Linked DNA regions of Homo sapiens: region 1 is linked to region 2. The links are contacts of gene promoters, found by promoter capture Hi-C in blood cells and fetal thymus (Javierre and others, 2016). All regions are on one chromosome and are shown on one strand. The core of a region is centred on a gene start or on the middle of the fragment in contact, and the rest is flanking DNA. Distances in the headings are between cores, read along the strand shown.

Region 1 (4,383 bases), core at 1,801-4,300, 53 kb before region 2:
CAACTAAAGCATTTTACAGCGGTTTGCCATTAGGGTATTCATGCAGATAATGCTTTCTACTAGGAATTACAAACTTTAAACACTTTTTAAACCTTAAAAATATTTAAAACAAATTAAGAGGGTCTGTTAATTCTTTATTTTATTTTATTTTATTTTTTTTTTTTTTTTGAGACAGAATCTCGCTCTGTTTCCCAGGCTGGAGTGCAGTGGCGTGATCTCAGCTCACTGCAACCTCCGCCTCCCAGGTTCATGCCATTCTTCTGCCTCAGCCTCCCGAGTAGCTGGGACTACAGGCGCCCGCCACCACACCCAGCTAATTTTTTTATTTTTAGTAGAGACGGGGTTTCACCATGTTAGCCACGATGGTCTCGATCTCCTGACCTTGTGATCTGCCCGCCTCAGTCTCCCAAACTGCTGGGATTACAGGTGTGAGCCATTGCCTCTCTTGACCCCGCTTTCCCCACTGTGGCCTTTATCTCTCTTTGCCTTTGCAGCAACACCCCTTAAAGACTTGTCTCCCTTGCATGTCCACCTTCTCCTTGTCATTCTCTCTTGAGCCCACTCTCAGGCTCTCACCACCATTACTCTACCAGTGGCCTCCATGGCACTAAATCCAGTGGTCCATTCTCTGTCCTCATCTTAGTCTATCAGCATTTGACAGACAGAACTGTCTCCTCTCTGAAATGTGTTCTTTATTTGGCTTCCAGAACAAAGTATTCTCCTGGTTTTCTTCCTTTCTCTCTAGTTCTTTCCTCCTATTCTCCTTCCCTGGTTTCCCCTCATTTCCCCTGCCACATAACATTAGAGCATACCAGGACCCAGCGTACTGTACTCCCTCCCTGGTCTTCTCAGCCATTCTTATGGCTTCAAACATCATCTATAAGCCTGTAACTCCCAAATCTGAACTCCAGACTCATTTCAAGATACCTACTTGATATCTCTACTTGGATGTCTCATTAGCATCTGAAACTTGAGAACAAAACTGTACTCTGAGATCTACTCCATTTTAAACCTGCTCCTCTCACAGTCTTACTCTTAAACCTGCTCCTCTCACAGTCTTACTCATTTCAATACATGAGGCAGCTACAGCCTCCTAGACGCTCAGACCAAGAACTTTGACAGTATCCTTAACTATTCACTTTCTTTAACACCCTACACATGATCCAGAAGTAAATCTTGTCAGTATTTCAAAATCTACCTGGCATCTACTCACTTCTCACCCTCATCCATCCTGGTGCAAGCCATCCTAAAATCTTGTCTGTTATTATTGCAGCACTGTCTTAATTGGTCTCTCTGTTTTCACCCTTGCCGTTATAAACTATTCGCAGTACACCAGCCAGAATGAGATGGTTAAAACTTAAGTTAGATCATGTCACACCTCTGTTTAAAACCACCCAATGACTTAACTGAGTAAAAACCAAAGTTCTTACAATTTCCTGGAAGCCTTATGTGATCTGGCCTCCTATTACCTCTAGATTTCATCTCCTACCACGCTCTCCCTCATTCACTCTATTCTGCACACACTGGCCTCCTCTCAATGCCCTAACCCTGTCAGAGACACTACCTACTTCACCCTTTGCTGTTGCTATTTCCTTTGCCTGGAAAGCTCTTCCCCCAAAGATCATCATAGCTCCCTCTCTTACTTCCTCCTTATCTCTACTCAAATGTCACTTTCAAGAATTCCCTACTCACCACAGTTAAATTGCATTTCCCCAACACACACACACACACACACACACACACACACACACACACACGAGTCTCCCTCCTCTGCTTCATTTCCCCTTAGCACTTTTCATTATCTAACATAGCTTAATTATTTATCTAGTTTATTGTTTTTCTCCTCTTGTTTATGGTGAGCTCTATGAGAGCAAGGATTTTGGCCTATTTCCTTCACTACTGCATCCTTAGCACCTAGATGAATGACAGGCATATCACAGACACTCAATAAATATTTGTTAGTAAATAAATAAATCCACTTTTCATCACCACCTCTTGTGCTCTACACTCAGAGGTTGAAATATTGAGTCTTATTCAAGGACTCCCTGTCTTGAGTTGTTGGAACCCTTTTCTCCCAATCAGTCATCTCCTGTCTCTATAACAGATCCAACATGTCCTTCTCTGGTGACTACTTCTCAGATCTCTCCTATCCACCAAAAGATAATAAAAATAAAATTTAAAAAGACTTGTCCTCTCCTTCTCATTTAAATTTCTCTTAAACCACATCCCCACATTAACCATTTCTCTTAAACCACAGTCCCCACATCCTCACCCTCACCCACTCAACAGCCTTATGCAACCTGACTTAACCCTTTACCACACTACTCAAACTCCTTTCACTGACATCCCCGGAAATCTCCCAAACGCCAGATCCAATGGATATTTTTCAATAATGTTATTGCTGCTCTTTTCTGCTGAAAAAAGGAAGGATCTAAAAAATGAAGACACATAAAATGTTCAAGAAATAGAGGATGAAACATCATAAATACATCAATTCTCCCCAATATTAAGCTATTAATTCAATAAATTGCAATCAAAATTCCAAAAATGATATATATATATATGTGCATGTGTATGCACATGTATATAACAAAACAATCTGATTCTAAAATTCATATAGAAGAGGAAAGGGTCAAAAATAGCATTGACACTATTGGAGATGAATGTAAGTCCAGATGTCGAGATGTATTATACAGTGATAGTAATTAAGACATGCGGTATTGATACACAGTAGACAACAACTAATATAACAGGAAAAGGAAACCAGAAACACACCCATACACAGATGGAAATTTAATATATGACTAGAGGTAAGCATTTCAAATCTGTAGGAAAAGGATGGGACTAACCAATAAATGGTGATAGGACAATTGACTATACAGAAAAAAAAAGAAATTGAATCCCTATTTCACACCATACACAAACATCAATTACAGGTGAATTAAAGAACTAAATATGAAATATCTAAATATTTAAATAAGATATTGATGAATATCTTCATGCCCCAGGGTAAGGAAGAATTTCTCAATATGTCAAAAGCACAACCATAAAAGAAAAAGAGACAAATATAACTGCATTAAAATTTAAAATGTCTGCACAACAAAAAAACACCAAAAATTTGTTTTAAATAAGCAACAAGCTGGGAAAAGATATTCATATTGCATAATGCCAACATAGGATTAATATCCAGAATTTAGAAAGAACACCTACAAGCCATTAAGAAAAAGACAACCAATCTCGCTGAAAAATTGACAAAAGGAATAAACAGGTAATTCACAAAAAAAATCCAAATGACCAGCAAATATATGAAGAGATAGTTTTACTAGTAATAAGGAATATAATTAATTACATTTAGTTACATTAAAAATAATGAGATAATATTTCTGACCCATAGGTTTGGAAAATATTAAAATATTAGAATACTACGGTATCAAGTGTTGGAATGGAAATACATTTCTGGTAGGAATCTAAGGTGGTACAACTACTTTGGAGAGCAATTTGGAATATTTAATTAAAGTTAAATATCTGTAAAGCCTATGACCAAACAATTCCACCGCAAGTAATACACAAGGAGATGCACACAAGAATATCCATTGCAGCTTTATATTATATTAGCAACAAAAGAAATTTTTAACCTAAATAACCACCATCAGAATTCATAAGTAAACTGAGTTATATTTATTAAATGGAACCATACAGTGGTTAAAATAATTGAACTAGAGCTATATGCATTGACATAAATAAATCTCCAAAAATTGAAGGATTAGAAAATAGTCATAAAAAAATCCTGTATGTCACCATTTAAAGGCTTAAGACATAAGAAACAATATCCTATATTTTAACAGTATATGTATAGTAAAATGTATGCAAATATAAAAGTCTATATGAGAATAATAAGTTCAGAATAGTAGTTACTTCTGGCAGGAATGGAGGAAATGGGTTTAGAGAATAATACATTGAAAATGTTTGCTGCCTGTAATTTTGTTTTTAAAAATCTGAATCAAATATGTAAAATGTTAAATATGACAAACACAGTGGTAGGTATGGTTTTTGGTTATATTATTCTCTTTATTGTTCTGTATAAAATAGTTCATAATAAGTTAGCCTTATTTCAGGAATGTTTAACATGACAAAATCTATTACTATAATTCATTATATAAATAGGTCAAATGACACATTATACAGTTTAATAAAATTCAGCACTCTCCTGATAAGATACTTTTCTTTGTTGTTCTTCTATATGTTCCTGTCATAATCCTTGCCACATTGCAACTGTCTGTTCACTGTTAGCACATGTGCGTGTACACACACACACACACACACACACACACACAGTGGACTGTCAGCTCTGTAAGGACAGGCACAAGGGCCAGGCTACCACTG
Region 2 (4,012 bases), core at 422-2,921:
CTCTTTGCCTACCCTTTAAATATTCTTCAGAGTAACTCATCCTTATCCACCTTTTGGGCTTCAGCCATCAGCGATTACCTCAATTCCCAAATGTATATTTTCAATTGCCAATGCATTTTTATGAGCTAAGGCTGCCTCTCTCTCCCTAGATGTACTGCAAGCAGATCCCATAAAGACTCATTATCTCTTCCATTCCCAACCTGCCCTCCTCTTGCTTTCAATGTTCAGTCAATGAAATTAACATTCATCCAGTGCTCTAAATGACAAATCTCAAAGTCCCCAAATGCATCTCACTGTCTTTGCCCCCTGTCCTGCAGGGTAAGAAGCTTTATCCATTACCAAATCCCCACCCCCGAACCTGCCTCTGAATCTTTTTTTTTTTTTAATTTATTTCTCCTAGAACAACTTACCCCACTTTGTCCCAAATCATTTTCATCCTTTGAAATTCAGAAAACTGATTAACTTCAATTAATTGCTTCTCTGAGTTCTACATAGCTTGGTGCTAGGTTGTGTTTTTTTAATGACCTGTCTAAACATGTCTTCCTCACTAGATTGTAAAATTCTTGAGGGCAGTTATTGGCTTTTGGTTATGGGGTCTAGCCGATGATTGACATTTTAAGCAATTTTTTTATATGAATGAATGAGTAAACGAGTAAACTGAGAAAGAAAATATTTTCAATTAAACCCTTTCAGAATTACTGTGGCAGAATCTGAGTGAAAATGACAATAACTCAGTTTAAAAACATGAACATCACGTAACCAACTTTGTAACATTCATTGTAACAATACATGCATGATTACAGAAGGCAGGTAATTGTTATTCCCCTAGGGAGATTTTTTTTTAAGCCTGCTCTGAAGATTTTGTTTTGTTTTTAAGACAGGGGCTTGTTCTGTTGCCCAGGCTAGAGTGCAGTGGCGCGATCTCCGATCATTGCAAGCTCCGCTTCCCCGGCTCAGGCTAACCTCCCTCCTCAGCCTCCCGAGTAGCTGGGATTACAGCGTAGCCATGCCAGACTGCCTGCAGAATTTGATTTTAAGCATTTCAGTTCTCAGTATAGACAGACAAATTTTTAAAGGGAGGGTATTATTTTAACTGCTTCTTTGCTCTTTTATCTTTTGTCCTGGGTGACAGGAACTAGATAAGCTATACCCCAGAGAAAGCGCCTGCAGCAGTACGGTGCCTGGGCCCTTGATAGTCCCTCAGCACATCATTTTCCTTTTTCCTACCTTATCTTCCTTTTATATTTGAAGGCTCGTGAATTTAGAGTACCTAACGGAAATTTTAGTTTTAGGATTTCAATTTGACCAAAACAACGCTGAGATTTTAATTGCCTCTATTAACCCATGGCTCTCAAACCCAAAGGAAAGAAACCACTGGAGGGGGTGGGGGAGAAAGGAGGCGGTGCAAAAACTGAAAAGAAAGGCGGAGAGGAAGCGGTAGAAGGAAGCTTTCTCTGTCGGGTTTGTCTTTTTTTAACCCCAGAAAGGCGTGACGTGCTAACTGCCGTCGCGGGTTAGAGTCCGCGGCCAAGCCCGCGCCCGCCCACAAAGTCCCCGCCCTCCCTCCGGCTTCCGCCCCGCCGTGCGCTGCAGGCCGCGGCCGCTGGGGGCGCCCCCGACCCCCGAGGCGCTGAGGCGGCGGTTCCTCGAGCCTCGCCTCTCCCGACTCCCAGACGGGCGGCAGCGGCGGCGGAGGCGGCGGCGGCGGCGGCGGCGAGCTGAGCACCAAAAGGGCGCTCACCTCCCCGGGCGAGCTGCAGCACGACCGCTCCCCGCGGGCGGTCGGGGTCCGCGCCGCAGCTGCCGCCGCGTTCCGGCCCAGGCTGCCGCGAGAGGCGGCGGCAGCGGCCCCGGCCGCGGCCGGCCTGCGGCGCCCCCCGGCCGCGCCCCCGCGCACAGCTCGCGGCCCCGGCCATGGGGCTGGGCTGATCCGGGGCTCGGCCAAGCTGAGGCGGCGGCGCCCGGCCGTGCGCCCAGCTTGCAGGCGCCTGGCTCTCACGATGATGAAGAAGAAGAAGTTTAAGTTTAAGGTGGACTTCGAGCTCGAGGAGCTCTCCTCAGTGCCCTTCGTCAATGGGGTCCTCTTCTGCAAGATGCGGCTGCTGGACGGCGGCAGCTTCACCGCCGAGTCCTCCAGGTAACTCGCCTCCCGCGCCGCCTCGCCCCTTTCTGCTTGGCCAGGGCTTGTTGGATGGGCAGCATCTCTCCTTGGCCCATTTGCTCGCCTTTCCCTAGGGACCGCTCTAAAATCAGTCGAATTTATTGATCTGCAAAGTGCTTTGCAAATGGGTTCTTCTCAGCTGGCCTTGGTTCCTGCGCTCCTGACTCCAGATGGTGCCTGGTATCTGCTCTTCCCTCCCAAATCCTCTAGGAATGGGAGCAATGGCCAGAGAGGGAGGATGCTTCTGTTTTCTCTTAAGACATTTCCATATTTGTGAAATGCAAAGTAGAACTTGAGCTGTTAAAAACTAAAATAACCCAAACTGCAGGAGTTCCAAGAGCCCAGCTCTGAACAGAAACCTGTGCTTAGCACAATTCCTTCTCCCTTGTAGATTACAAGGGGACTTGGCCACCCACTCTGAGGCTGGGGTAGGCCTGGCCAGGCTTGACTTGAGTCAAGTGCTCCTGGCAGACGAGACAACGGTCTGTGCCTCATCAGAGAGCGGCGTCTCCAGTTAGGCGCTAATGCTGGATGAATTAGTCTTGAAGTGGCCACTAGTAGGTCTCCTTGTGGGAGGGCTTAGAGCCAGATGGGGAGCCCAGGCCCTGCCCTCATTTTAAAATGAGCCCCTGGGCACTCCCAGAGAGAGGCATTAGCAGGTTACAGAATGAAGCTATTAAATAATAGGTGTGGCATTAATAATAGGTGTGGCAGTGTTTCTTGAGTAATTTCAGAGCTACTCACAGGTTGACAGATGTACCCTAAGGTGCTTTCTTTAAAATATATACATAGAGAGAGAAAACAATTTTTTAAATGAACTTTTGAGTTCCTGAGATCAAGAAGGGTTAAAAGTTAATGTTATTTTGCCCATATATACTGGTCTTAGGCTTTATTTCTGCCCTAAAAATATTCTACTTAAAAAAAATTCCGTCATCCCATTTATAGTATAAAGGAAATAATGTCACTGGATTGTGGAATTGGGGCTAGAAACTTGTCTTTGGGGCAATATTGAAGCCTATGGAAGCCAGAAAATGTCTAGTTGGCTAAACCAAAGGATATATGAAATTAATAGTTTGCCGAAGACAGTTTTTAAAATTAAACTGTGGTGACACATCAGTGGATATTCAGCTAAGTATTTTAAACACCTGTAAGAGAAGAATGTAACCTATTTTGGTGCAAAAAAAATATTGGACCATCTCTTACTTGTTGAAAAGCCTAAGCCGATTCGTGAAGGTCCTGTTGGTGCAGGTGACAGTCTTGCCCTGAGGCCTAGACTGTTTTGCTGCAGGGTGCCACCCCCGACGCCAGGCAGTTAGACTGGCGCTCCTGGGCCAGTGGTGACACCTGGTGGTCAGGGCACTTGTCTACGGGGCTTCCTTCCTACCTCAGTTATGTTTATTTGGCTTACTTCCCACAAGTCACTTATTCTTTCGTTGTAGGCAGTCATTTATTCAGCAAATATGTGTTGGCTTCTAAATATATTATCTTATTTAATTCTCATAGCAAGTCTATAAGGTAGGGGTTCCATTTCGTAGATAAATAAACTGAGGCTCAGAAAGCATAACTAACTTTCCTAAGGTCCCCTCAGCTGGTAAGTGCGATGCCAAGATTCTGATCAGGTCTGTGTAACTTCAAACAGGGTGGTGCCAGATAAAGGAATAAATCGTGTGCCATATATGAAAGTTTCTGAATAGGGAGCTTCCTAATGACTTTAATGAGCAAGGGGTATACTCCGCAAGACTTAGAAATGAAAAAGTTGAGTATCTTGGGTTAAACTCACCCCTTTTTCTTCCAATTAAAATTTGACTTTGATCAATTTGATTTTAAGTAAGATTAGGAATAGTGCTCTGT

The links. Contacts are between HindIII fragments. The CHiCAGO score rates a contact against its expected background, and 5 or more counts as called.
Region 1: a contact is called between a fragment that was not itself captured here and the fragment with the promoter of EEIG2 in region 2, in 1 of 17 cell types (monocytes). The highest score is 6.1, in monocytes.

What each region holds. Positions count from the first base shown.
Region 1 is chr1:108,503,604-108,507,986 of GRCh38, forward strand. It overlaps the pseudogene ST13P21. Among named protein-coding and RNA genes, the nearest start is that of EEIG2, 54 kb to the right of the region's middle. RefSeq lists a silencer at 986-1,125. The HindIII fragment of the contact is 8,656 bases long and covers 1-4,383 here.
Region 2 is chr1:108,558,429-108,562,440 of GRCh38, forward strand. EEIG2 (EEIG family member 2) reads left to right here and starts at 1,672. Exons shown (of 11, transcript NM_001010883.3): 1 at 1,672-2,137. The coding sequence starts at 2,001. RefSeq lists a silencer at 1,333-1,872 and enhancers at 2,263-2,362, 2,826-2,875. The HindIII fragment of the contact is 6,399 bases long and covers 1,447-4,012 here.